3 separate regions of the Homo sapiens genome follow, and all the other regions are linked to region 1. Evidence: promoter capture Hi-C in human tissues and cell types (Jung and others, 2019). All regions are on one chromosome and are shown on one strand. Each heading gives the region's core, a stretch centred on a gene start or on the middle of the fragment in contact. The rest is flanking DNA. Distances are from core to core; before and after follow the strand shown. Region 1 holds the start of SETMAR (SET and mariner transposase domain methyltransferase). Region 2 has its middle 43 kb from the start of CRBN. Region 3 has its middle 60 kb from the start of CRBN.

The links. Contacts are between HindIII fragments. The study calls those that stand out against the background at their distance.
Region 2: a contact is called between a fragment that was not itself captured here and the fragment with the promoter of SETMAR in region 1, in 1 of the 25 tissues and cell types used here (dorsolateral prefrontal cortex).
Region 3: a fragment that was not itself captured here is called in contact with the fragment with the promoter of SETMAR in region 1 in 1 of the 25 tissues and cell types used here (dorsolateral prefrontal cortex).

The regions. Positions count from the first base shown.
Region 1 is chr3:4,301,425-4,305,952 of GRCh38, reverse strand. SETMAR (SET and mariner transposase domain methyltransferase) reads right to left here and starts at 2,584. Exons shown (of 3, transcript NM_006515.4): 1 at 2,427-2,584. The coding sequence starts at 2,582. It also overlaps a transcript of SUMF1 not described here. RefSeq lists enhancers at 2,147-2,216, 2,245-2,987 and a silencer at 2,307-2,646. The HindIII fragment of the contact is 5,892 bases long and covers 1-4,457 here.
Region 2 is chr3:3,220,761-3,225,288 of GRCh38, reverse strand. No RefSeq gene overlaps it. Among named protein-coding and RNA genes, the nearest start is that of CRBN, 43 kb to the right of the region's middle. The HindIII fragment of the contact is 4,948 bases long and covers 141-4,528 here.
Region 3 is chr3:3,237,248-3,241,775 of GRCh38, reverse strand. No RefSeq gene overlaps it. Among named protein-coding and RNA genes, the nearest start is that of CRBN, 60 kb to the right of the region's middle. The HindIII fragment of the contact is 3,395 bases long and covers 653-4,047 here.

The DNA of each region.
Region 1 (4,528 bases), core at 1,335-3,834:
CAGCAATGCTTAGTCCTAAGTTTTCAGGGACCACTGTTTAATATTGGGCCAGCTAACTGTATTATTAACTATAAATTGCCAAAGGTAGTCTGGGGAACAATAATAATTTCTGACATTAATATCTTATTCTACTCTTTGAGGACTAAACTCTGATTTTTTCTTATCTTGCCCAAATTCCTACCCAAGGCACCTGGGGAGTCATGCCTTACAAACCATAAAGTCTCATCAGAGGAGTTTTAATTTTAACCCTATATAGCATGGTCTGCTTTCTACCTGACTCTGGCATAACATCAAATAACAAATAAGGGAAGAAATCAAAATATTTTAACCCCAAATATATTTCCTTGCCATATCTTGAAATTGCCCTGGAGGGTTGTCTCTTGTGGGAAAAATCCACATTCTATAGAGAATCCCCTTTCCCCCTCTTTTTCTTTCTTTCCACAACAAGGAGATAATCAACTAAGACCGAGGCACCTTTTTAAGTTAGATAAGAAACATTTTACAACCTGCTCCCTCTGAAGTCAGCTGGGAGTCTCCTCCCCACAATTAAAACTTGGGTCTCTACATGGCCGGGTGCGGTGGCTCACGTCTGTAATCCCAGCACTTTGGGAGGCCCAGGTGGGTGGATCACTTGAGGTCAGGAGTTTGAGACCAGCCTGGGCAACATGGTAAAACCCTGTCTCTACTAAAAATACAAAAATCAGCTGGGCGTGGTTGTAGGCGCCTGTAATTCCAGCTACTCGGGAAGCTGAGGTGGAAGAATCGCTTGAACCTGGGAGGCGGAGGTTGCAGTGAGCTGATCGCACCACCACACTCTAGCCTGGGTGATGGAGTCAAGCTCCGTCTCAAAAAAAAACCCTTTATCTTAACCTAAACATTTCTATTGATCCCAGGTCTTCAGACAAACTCAACCAATTGTTAACCAGAAAAATTGTTAACCAGAAAAATTAAAATCTACCTATAGTCTGGAAGCCCCCCCCACCACTTTGAGTTGCCCCGCCTTCTGAACCAAACCCATGTACATGTTAAATGTATTTGATTGACGTCTCCTCTCTCCCAAACATGTATAAAACCAGGCTGTGCCCTAACCACCTGGGACACATGTTCTCAGCATCTCCTGAGGGCTGTGTCACAGGCCATGGTCACTCATATTTGGCTCAGAATAAATCTCTTCAAATATTTTAGAGTTTGATTCTTTTCCTTGACATCTTTGAAAGCTGCTATTGAATCTCTTATCTTATCTGATCCTCACAAAAACCCCTAGGAAAAAGAAAGGGCAGATAGGGTTCATTGTTGATAATGGATGTTAAAGGGGCTATGCATTTTTAAATTATTATTTTCATTTTGCAGATGAAGAAACTCAGGCTCTGGGAAGTAGCTAAGATGTCTAAGCTCCGAACCATACTCTCCAACTTCCACGTCCAGCGCTCTTTCCACTTCAAAATCTTTGGTCATTCCTTATTCCTTGGGTAACGCTCAGGCCAAGGTCGGAGGGATAAGAAAGTCAGTAGAGGCTGGGAGCGTGGCTCATGCCTGTAATCCCAGCATTTTGGGAGGCCGAGGCGGGCGGATCACCTGAGGTTGGGAGTTCGAGACCAGCCTGACCAACATGGAGAAACCCTGTCTCTACTAAAAATACAAAAATTAGCCGGGCGTGGTGGCCCATGCCTGTAATCCCAGCTACTCGGGAGGCTGAGGCAGGAGAATCGCTTGAACCCGGGAGGTGGAGGTTGCGGTGGGCCGAGATCGCGCCAGTGCACTCCAGCCTGGGCGACAGAGCGAGACTCAGTCTCAAAAAGAAAAAGGAGAGTAGAAAGGGCTTTGAGGTAGTTAATAGAAGCAAACATTTACTGAGTTCTTACAGCAAACCGGAAAGTGTATTTTCCTTGCCATTTTCAAAGCACTCCGGAAGAGAGGTACTGTTCCACTGTACGCTGGAAGACTCTAAGGCTGAGCCACAGCTAATTTACACTCGCCCAAGAGCCCACAGCGTGAGGGAGACCACAGCTAAGGCTGACTCGAGGGGCTGTTTTTATGCACGACACCGGCTGCGATCCATTAATAGGCCCCACGGCTTATCCTACCTGTGAGAGACACCTGAGACCAGGGAGGTAAATGACTCCCCCCGTGATGCCTCCTTGAGTTCTGAGGACAGGACTGGACAAAAAGCCAGGTTCTCACAAGGCCTCCGGTTCTGCGCTTCAGGGAATGGACTGAAAAGGACAACACCCTTGCTAAGGTGATGCCGTGGGTCAACAGAAAAAGGCCCAGGCCGGGGCATGCACACCTATTCCCGCGCACCAACGGGTGCGCTGTAAGAGAAGACAAAAGGTCGCGACTGGGAGGCCGTCCCAGCGAGGCGGCTTGAGGAGACCACGTGGGGGAGCCGCGCGCCCGCCTCCCGCGCCGCCTGGCCCCGCCCCTACCTGGAAGGGCGCCGGCGCGGCCCCCGGGGGCCACGCGCCCACCGGCAAGTTTTCCTGGCCGCACGCGACATCCAGCTGCTCAGTCGGGGCCTCAGGCTTCTCCTTAAACTCCGCCATCCCACAAGGCCGTGTCGTCTTTGCCGCTTCCGCGAACATTTACCCGCCTCACGCAACGCCCACTACCCTGACAGTCCTGGGCCGCGCGGTGGATGCTGGGACTTGTGGTCCCGTGGCCCCACCGCCTCATGGGAATTGTAGTTCGTTTCTTCTCAGGAGTGGCCTGGAAGGCGCTTCCCTTCCTTGACTTTTTGGGTCTGGCTCCCGTTTTGATTTCAGCCAGAGGCACCACAGATAATTACAAAACCATGTAAGGTACGGACGAAACAAAGTGAGGTGCTTTAGTTTTTCCTGGGAGCATCAGAGAGGGGGCTTTCGAGGTGAGGTCATTTGTCCAGGTTTTTGAGGGCTCACTGCACGTTTGTGGAGTGGAGGCAGGGGTGCGTTCTAAACCGAGCGGGGAAACGCACACCAAGGTTTCTAAAGGTCTGCGGCTTGCCGGGAAGTTGACTGACATGTGATAGGGTTTGTGCCAAGGCGATAGCCTCACAGGGTGCCTTAAGGAATTTGTGTGGGGGCATGCTCACTCCCTGATGGAGGTATCCGTGCCCCTTTGCCTGTCCTTTTCCCTCCTCTCCATCCCTCTACCCTCACCCCTCCAAACCCCTGCCCTGCCAAAGGATTCTGATAGCCTCAAGACTGCTGAATCCGGTGGAGCATTTTCAACCTCACTGAAGCTCTCTGACATGATTGTCCTGCTTCTCCTTGAAACTGTAAACCAAAAATAAAATTCCAATCCTCCAAACCATCTGAAGGGACCCCTCCTCTCTGCCAAGGTTAACCTGAGAAAGTGGTTCAGGCCATGATGGGAAGGGGGGTCCAACATGCCTCATTATGCCCTTCTTCCTTTTGGAATTCAGGAAAAGCCAGCCAGCATCAACATCAACACACACCTTAAGTCTGATAAGAAACATTTACAATCTGTTCTCTGAAATTTACCTCTTGGAGGCTTCATCTCCACGATCAAATTTGGTATCCACAACCTCTTATTGCAACCCAGACATTCGTTTCTATTGATTTTAGGTCTTTAGATAATAACCAGTTGCCAATCAGAAAATCTTTAAATCTACCTATGACCTGGAAGCCACCCCTCACCCGCTTCTCGTTGTCTGCCTTTCCAGATCCAACCAATCTTACATGTATTGATTGATGTATTATGTCTCCCTAAAATGTGTGAGAGTAAGCTGTATCCCAACCACCTTGGGCACATGTCATCAGGACTGCCTGAGGCTATGTTGGGGGCGCATTCTTAAGCTTGGGAAAATAAACTTTCTAAATTGAGACCTGTCTCAGATAATTTTGGGTTCACAAACCCTTCTGACCTTGCAGCTTCTGAGGTCCCATTGGCCTAAATGTGTTTCCATCTTGCAGACCTTTCCTTGTTAGTATCCTCTTGTTGTTTTCCTGCCTGACTGTTTCTGAAAAGTGGGTGTGATTCAGGGTTCTGCCCTTGACCTTTTTCTTTGCTCCCCTTCCCTGAACTTTCTCATTAATAACATCCACTCCCATGGCTTCAAATATAAAGGATTAGGTCACCAGTCTCCAACCCAGATCAGACGTTTCTCCTCAAATCCAGTTACGCATATTCAGCTAATGATTGAGCATTTCTGTTTTCTGTCCTACAGGCTCCTCAAACTCAAAATAATCTGAATTGACTTCTTCTGCCAGTCTTGCTTTTTCTTCTTTAAAGTTAACTGGGAAAATAATTTGTGATCTACAGAGCCACTAAAGCAACAAACCAGTTACTCTGTATTCCTTCACTTCACTAGACTCATATAGCTAAGGACGTGGTGGGTAAGTCTTGTTGATTCTGCCTTCATGTTCTCATTTTTGCCTCTTCTCACTTAGTCCTAGGCTCTCTCATTTCTTGCTTGGACTTTGGAAGTTCTTTGCTTTAAGTCTGTCATTCTCCATATCCCCAAATCACCCTTACTGCCGCTGCTACAATGACCTTTGAAGATCCTTGTCCAGTTATTATATTTTGC
Region 2 (4,528 bases), core at 1,365-3,864, 1.1 Mb after region 1:
GCTCCAAGGATGATGACAATATCATGTTCTAACTGTGCTTTTTTCTCCCCATTTCCACCCCACTCAGCATGTCTACCTCTCCAGTTGTCCCAGACTTCTCAAAATGGTGATCCATGACTCAGAAATGGCCTATAACATGTTTTCTTCCCAAACCTATGTGACTTTTAAAAATTTGAATTAGTGGCCAGCTTTGAAAATTGGATTGTTTACATAGAAATCCAGATTTCTGACATCTCTTGGAAAAAAAAAATAGCAGATCTTACAATAATTATTTGCAATCTGCACCAGTCAGCTAAGGCCTGGTAACAACCAAACCCTTTTTGCCCAGCACCCACTTTGAAGTTTGCCTAAGTCCCATCAAGCTCTGTTGTTCCCTGAAAAGATAAAATGTTGATTGTTATTTTGTATTTGTGCTAGTCTTCTTACAGTGTAATTAAGGTGAAATATTTCTTGTATTCATGTCCCTGGAGAAAGTAGGAGAACCAAAAAGACAGGGAGGGCTGTGTGTTTCACAGTAAATGGGAGATAGCCCTCTTACACTCATTTGTTTCACCCAAGGATACTGTGAGTACTACAGTTGGCACTATCTGATTCAGTCTATTGCTTCAATGCCATTTAGTGTCTGTATTAGTCAGGGTTCTCCAGAGAAACAGAACCAATAGGTTATTTTATATATATATATATATATACACATACATACACACACACACACATATATATATACACATATATATATGCACACATATATATATGTACACATATATATATGCACACATATATATGTATATAGTGTGTATATGTATATATCTGTGTGTATGTGTACACATATAGGTACACATATAGGTATATATATGTACCTATATCTCCATCCCTATCTATCTATATGGAGAGGGGGAGGATTTATTATAAGTGATTGGCTCATGTGATTATGGAGGCTAAGAAATCCCAAGAGCTGCTGTCTGCAAGCTGTAAGCTGAGGAAAGCCAGTGGTATAGTTCCAGTCCTGAGTCTGAAGACTTGAGAATTGGAGAGCTGATGGTGTAAGTTCAAGTTCAATCTGAAGACCTGAGAACCAGGAGTGTTGACAGCAGGAAAAGATCGATATCCCTCTAACAGTAAGAGAGAATAAATGAGTCCTCCATTCCTCCATGTATTTGTTCTATTTAGGCCCCCAACAGATTGGATGAGGCTGCCCACATAGGGGAGGGCTAGCTACTGAGTCCACTGTTCAAATGCCAATCTCTTCTAGAAGCACCCTCACAGACACATCAAGAAATTATGTCTGACCAGCTATCTGGGCATCTTGTCGCCCAGTCTAGTCAACATGCAAAATTAACCATCCCAGTTATCTTGTAGTAGGGATGAAGAATATGAATCAATACATGAATTAATGCAGAAAATAGATATGCTTCACCTACCAAGGTGGTGTGTCATCAGGGATATTCCACCAATGTTGGGGAAGTGCACACCACAAATCTTAAAACCAGAAGATTTTCCCCCTAGACTACTGTATATATAATTGTCAGACTGTTTATTTGCAGTCTCATGACCTTAAACCCAGAGAATTTGGGGACCTGCCAGAAATGAAAAGAAGGAAAGGCAACACAAGTATCTCTCTTACATTTAGAGCTTAAGAATTATCCTGGATATATTTACTTATTTTCAACTTCCTTCCCTCCTCCTTTTATATGCTCATCATGAGGAGGCTTCATGCTATCTTAACCTGATTTAAGCTTAAATGGAAACATTTGCCTCTTTGATCATGATAAGAACAAACTAGTACCTTCTTCCTCTTCCCAAGTAAAGAAATCTTTAGAATGTGTGAAACTGTTGACAGTAAGTCCCAATTCCCTGAAGACAGACTGATCATTTACTTAGCATTCTACCTTGGGGGCTACACTGAAGATCTCAGAGGTCAAGTCCCAAATCAAAACTTGAGTGGAATATTTTAAAATACAGCCAGTAACCAAGAGAGTTAAAAGCTCTTTGGCATGTTTATATCTGACCTTCATCTATTAACCTCAAGGAAAGGTAATGAAACTTGCATTCACGAGAGATGGTATTATCTACTTCAGGATAATCTATTTAATGAATGAGTAATAAGCAAATTTTTAAAGAAAATGAAATTCCTGGGGACTCTTAGAAAATTTAACATCGCAATTTGGGAATATGTTTACCATATAACTATGAAAATGATAATGAGCCCACAATTTCTGAGCCAGAAAATTTCTTCATTGCTAAATAATGCACTAGAAAGAAAACAAACCAGCACCACAGGATCTGCAACAGCCAATATGGATTAAATATGGATTTTTAGAACCTTGTTATAATTAGCTGTATTAAAACGCCCTTGTCACAGTATCGAACAGTAATCAAGACACTAGGAAGGAGATGTGAAATAGAAAGACACGAAACAGCTCAGACAGAACTATCTTCATCATCAGTGATGTGTAGGATGATGCAAAGGACAGGAGAAAGTTAACCTTGGTGAGGGAGTTTAATTTGTGTGTGTTTGCCTATTTATACTCAGGTAAGACAAAGATTAAATGAAACCATGTATTCATGCCTTGCTTCAACATTTTCAGAGCCCCACTCCACCCATAACCATCACTTACTGAGGAAACTGGGAACTCCACCGGCATCCAAGACCCTTCACTATCTGGCTGTCACTTCTTTGCTGTAAACAGATTTCTTGCTATTCCCCTCAAGAGGTAGTAAAACCTAGTGGTTAAGAATCTGTGTTTAAATTCTAATTCGACCACTAACTAGTTGTGGGATAAGGTTACACAATTTATTTCAGCCTCCATTTCTCCATCTGTAAAGGAGAATTACTCATCATAGTCTTAAACAAGGATTAAATGAGATTTTCTATGTCACGTGCCTAAGCACATGCCTGACATACAGTAGGTATACCAGACAGCTACTGTGAAGTTACACTTAGCTGCTCTCTATTCTCTGGCAGTTACCCAGCTTCAGGCTTTTGTGGGTTTTTAGCCTTTCCTGTTCAAAGGCTCTGCCCATCTCATGTCTTCAAATCCAAATTCATCCTTCAAATGCCTCTCCAGATAGCTCCCTAACTCCCCACCTCCCCTGAAAATCACAGTTCAGCTCTCCTGCCTCCTCTTCGGTTCCCTGGAAGACACACACTCAGCAACTGACCATCAGCTCCATGAGGACAGGAAGCAGGCTCCTGCCATCTTCATCATAGCCACATGGGCAACCTCAGCATCTAACAAGCATTAGGTACTGGGTAAATACTAGGTGATGAAAGAGGCAGAGAGAAGGAAAAGTGAAATGAGGGGAGAAGAAGGGAGTCTGAGAAAGGAGAGGCAAATGCAGGTGGTAACACAAATGCATGCAAAAGCAGCCACCCAGAGAAAGCCAGGGAAGGAAGGACCAAGTGGGAGAGAGTAGGAAGCAGATTAGAGGTGGCTATGATTTTCGCCTTAGTGGTTGCTGCTGTCAGCCTGTAAATGGCTCCTGCAGCTCTTCAGGGGGATCTCTGCTAGAATAAAGCAGCTCTGTGTAAACAATATCCCTGTGTGGTCATCAAAGAATGTGCAATAGGCTGTCTGTGTGAGGGTATATATAATAGATTCTCTGATGAGATCGCCACTTTGCCCCTTGCTATTTCTGTGTGCTGCTCTGATGAAATCTCAGAATATATTACAACTAGGACCACTGGAATTTTACTGTTGATGGGGATGAAGGGGAGAAGGAGAAGCCTTTCTGAAGCTCACAGATTCTAAATGATGATGACCACCACCACCACCCCTGGCCTGCAGTCAGCCCCAGCCTCAGTCTGTGGAAATCATTCTCACTGTGAAGCTTGTTCACAATTCTGGCTCTTTCCTCACCTGTGCTCTGTAGTGGTTGCTGCCTGTTATCTCTAAAGGATAGATTTGGGGGATTTTTGTCTATTTTCAGCCATCCTGTTAGAATTCAGTAATCCTCTTTCAGGTGTGTCTCTACCTGATATTTTCATTACTTACTGTCTAAACAAGCCACTGGAGAGGTCCTGATAAGAAAGGTCAAGCCTTACTCCCAAATTCTCCCAGATTGGCCTCTGCTTTGTGAATGATCATGAATGGAGGTAAGGCACAGCCTACACATAGCTTGCAATAATAAGTAGAGTTACATCTACTATGTCCATAGTCTAGCACTATGCATTTTACAGACATTATGTGGTTTGAATTAATCCCTATATCAATTGTATGCATTCATATATTCATTTTTACAACAGATAGATACTAAGCATCTACCATGTTCCAAAAAAGGTGGGTAAAGGAGTTTACAAAACCAAGTCCCCACTGTCATTCCTTTACAGAAACAAACAATAAATATACAACATGTCAGGGGTTACAAATGCTCTGACAAAAATAAGCAGAACACAGTCATGGAATGGAGATGTGATTGGAATGGGGAGAACTTATTTTATATAATGGGGTCAGAGAAGTTCTCTCTGATAAGGGCAGTCTTGAGCAAAGATCACAAGGAAAAAAAGAAGTAAATGCTCCTGGGAAACAGA
Region 3 (4,528 bases), core at 1,101-3,600, 1.1 Mb after region 1:
ACTAAAGTCGCACCGCTTGTAAATGATAGAGCCAGGATTGGACCAAGCAGTCTAGCTTAATCCAATTAAGTTTGGAAAAAAGGGTCACATTCTGGTAAAACTCCGTCTTTATTGTCTCATGGACAATTCCATTCAATATTTGCTATAGCTGTCTGGATATTTTTGCTTGCTAATTCATTATGTGAGAGTGATCACTACTCTAAGGGTGGGGTAGTTTCTGCAGTAATTTCTTCTTTCTTTTCCTCCTACTGCAGTGATTACCTTACACCCTATTTTGACTTTGTGCAGCTACGTCAGATAATAGCCTCAGTCATTTGACATTTAATAAACATTCACTCAGTGCCTGTCTCATGCTAGACCCGGCTCCAGGCATTTTAGGTGCAGGGAAGAACTCCAAGCTCTATTTCAGTGTTTTCAGCTTCCTCCAAATCCGCATGTTCTATCATTATCTTCCCTTGAGCAGATGCTGAAAACTGGCTCAGAGCTGCTAAGAGGAAGCCTTTCCTCTGACTCAGTTCCAGGGGTTACCTGTAGGCATACGTGAGACTTTGAATATATATCAATCTTGGGGGAAGCTAACAATGTTGTTAAAGCAGATATAATCATCCAGGCTTTTCCTTATCTCAAAACCTGGCTATAGCCAAGATATCCAGCACATCACAAGGATAAGTCAGATGTAAATAAAGACCTGGGGAGGGCTTAAGTAGCTTTATATCATTTCCTTCCAGGCTCTCAGCAGAGCAAAAAGAATCTCCAACTTCTTAAATAGAAATGTTATAAAACCAAAGCGTTTTCATGTCTGTTTCCCTTTTCCTAACCCCCTTCACATCGCTGTTTCAGAAGATCCAGATTTTAATGGCTAAGTAGTTTTGTGTTTTCTATTATGATTAAAGTTTAACAATAATCCTGTTTTATTTCAGTAGGACTTCAGTTTCCTAAGTGCATTCACATGTGTGGTCTTGTTCAGCCTCCCAACAACCTTGCTGGATAGGCCAGGAATGTTGCCTTCTTTTTTTTTTTTTTTTTTTTTGAGACAGAGTCTCGCTCTGTCACCAGGCTGGAGTGCAGTGTACTGCAACCTCTGCTTCCCAGGTTCAAGTGATTCTCCTGCCTCAGCCTCCCAAGTAGCTGGGACTACAGGCCCGTGCCAGCACGCCCAGCTAATTTTTGTATTTTTAGTAGAAATGGGGTTTCACCACGTTGACCAGGATGGTCTCGATCTCTTGACTTCGTGATCCACCCACCTCAGCCTCCCAAAGTGCTGGGATTACAGGCGTGAGCCACCACACCCAGCCGTTGCCTTCTTTGATAAATGAGAAAGCTCACATTCTGAGGAGGGAAGTCCCCAAAGCACACACGCAGTAAGTTGGGCTTTCCCCCTTTAGTCTTTAAATGTCCTGCATGAAGTGAGCACAGTATTAAACACCAGAAAACAGAAGCCCCCTTCCACCTTCTTCTGAACAGTAACAGCAGGCGTCTCTATTATAGAAATGTAAACATTCCTGTGGTCCTTTAGAATAGCTCCACAGTCTCAATGATTTTCAAGTTGAGTAAGTTTTAAGTTCCTTGAATAAAGTTATTGAAAATGACCTAATAAGTTGCATTCAAAAATTTAAGTACCTAATTTCCATCCATTACAACCTATTATACTACAACAAGAGAAACATATATTAAAAGTATTTCTTTACTGCACTTACTTTACATAATGCAGACCTGATGATGGAAACTAAGCTCCTTGGATTAAACTGCTTCAACCTGACCTGATTTATTGGTCCATTTTTAAGTTATAGCTAGCTGCACATGAGTATGAAATGTAACTTTTTGGCCTGAGAAAGTGTGAATGCATATTCTAAACGCAGTGTTTCAAAGTAGTGTTTTACTATTATTTTATTTATGCTAAAAGTTTTCTACATCAAGTTTGATCAGGGTTTCTGGAGCATAGTTCATGATGTATGTGAGTATATCCATCTCTACCCCCACATGTAGAAACTGTTGACAGCTGTTGTGATACCTAGGTTCTTGCCTTCTTAGTTTAAAAGAATTTAAGCAAGAGACACACAGTTAAGGAGATGCAGCATAGAGCAGTTTATTGCAAAGGAGAAAGAATGCTCTGAAAGTTCGGTGCAGAATAGACATTACAACCTGAGAGAGGATTCGGGGCACGCTGCTCCTAAGGATGAGACAGCAAAGACAGGCACTAGGGAGACCCCCTTTGTGGGAGTCTTACATGATGATTCATAGGTGGTTGGGAAGAGGTGTTACTAGTAAGCATGTTCTGGGTGATCCTCTGAGTGCACATGCGCAGTAGCTGTACATACTTGTTCATATGTCACATGTCTCATCAGTATCTTAAATCTCCACCCAGGGTGTGTTTTTTACTATTATAATGAGCAAAGGGTCAGTGTGAGGACCGGACAAATCAAAACGTGCTTGCTCTCTACAGGGGAAGTTTCCCACTGAAGATAGCTTTGCTTGACTGAGCTTGAGTACAATGCGAATGCTGAAGCTTATTGTGTTGACTGTAGGGTTGCCACATCCCAAGATTATGGTCACCACTTTTTTGACTTGCTATCCTGCTTCAACACCTACATACATATGCTGTATGCAGTTAAAAGAATGTCTGTGGTGTCCAGCTGCTTTTTGTGTATCAATCTTAAGCTCTGTGACCTTGGACAAGTTACTTAATCTTTCTAAGAATTAGAGATGAAATAAATAATCTTCTATCTCATGAACCTATTTTGAAGAATAAATTATATAACCACTGGAAAATGATAGATATAATAGCCTGCCCACAGTTAGCACTTAGTACACATTATCTATTGTTATTATTATTCACAGGACAATCTCATTTATGCAAAGTGCCTTAGCAATATAAAGGAGAATATAAAAGAGAGTCAGGGAAGAAAATGGTCTATGTATTACTTTCCTGCCTCTGCTATAACAAATTACCACACATATGATGGCTCAAAACAACATGAATTTACTACCCTACTGTTCTATAGATCAGAAATTAGTTTCACTAGGCTACTATCAAGGTGTTGGCAGGCTTGCATTCTTTACAGAAGCTCTATGGGAAAATCCATTTCCTTGCCTTTTCAAGCTTCTAGAGTGACCCCTTCTTTGAGCTTCAAAACCAGCAATAAATGGATGGTCAAGTTTTCTACTGTATCACCCTGATATTCCTCTTCTATCCCTCTGTCTTTCTCTTATAACAGCAGTCCCCAACCTTTTGAGAACAAGGGACCAGTTTCATGGAAAACAATTTTTCCATGGACTGGGGTTGAGGCAATGATTTCAGGATGATTGAAGCACATTACATTTATTGTGCCCTTTATTTCTATTATTATTACATTGTAATATATAATGAACTAATTATATAACTCACTATAATTTAGAATCAGTGGCAGCCCTGAGCTGCTTTTCCTGCAACTAGATGATCCCATCTGGGGGTGATGGAAGACAGTGACAGATCAGGCATTAGATTTTTATGAGGAGCATGCAACCTAGATCGCTTACTTGCACAGTTTACAGTAGAGTTTGTGCTCCTGTGAGAATCTAATGCCACTGCTGATCTGACAGGAGACAGAGTTTAGATGGTAATGTGAGCAATGAGGAGTGGCTGTAAATACAGATGAAGCTTCACTCAGTTGTGTGCCACTCACCTCCTGCTGTGTGGCCCAGTTCCTAACAGGCCACGGAGCAGTAGCTCTCTGTGGCCCAGGGGGTGGGGATCCCTGTCTTGTAAGGATTCTTGTGATTACATTGGTCTTACCCAGATAATTAGGACTAACCTCAACATTCTTAACTTAATCACATTTGCAAAGCCCACATATTCACAGGTCATGGGGATTCACAGGTCATTCCTTTTGTCATGCAAGCCCACATATTCACAGGTTCTGGGGATTAGAATGTGGACATCTTTGTGGGAGAAACATTATTCAGACTACCACAGTTTATGCCAAATATATGCCATAATAACCACATGAAGGTTCATGGAGTCTGTTCATAGGAGAGTTCTAACTCAGAGCTTTCTGTCTTATTTTGAGGCTATTCCCATAAACTTGATTCTTTATTTCTTTGTAGCCTAGTACCAATTGGAAATAGTCAATTATTTGGTGTTTCAGGATAACGTAAATTTAAAAAATAAGAAGAAGAAATGGTCAATTGTTGTGTGCCTGGGAAAGGCTGGGAAATTAGGAAATTAAGAAAGGCTGGGAAATTCTGCCCACATCCCATTGTCCATTCCTTGGTCACATGCTGCCCACTCCCCAACTCAAGGAAGCATAGAAAATATCAGCTGATGCTCAAGAAAAAAAAATAGTAAACTCCCCCAAACCAGTATCTGTCAATCTGTCACATTTTCTGTCTGTTGTAATAATCCAGTTGGAAAGGAAAGCAGAGGAGAGGCTAAGAGGGTAGAAGTGACTAAAAGGGGATACAGAAGCAACTAAGACAAGCTTTCACATTATAGTTTGCTAAAGGCCCATGAGGAAGAAAGCAAGGGTCTTTAGATGACCTTCGATGCATC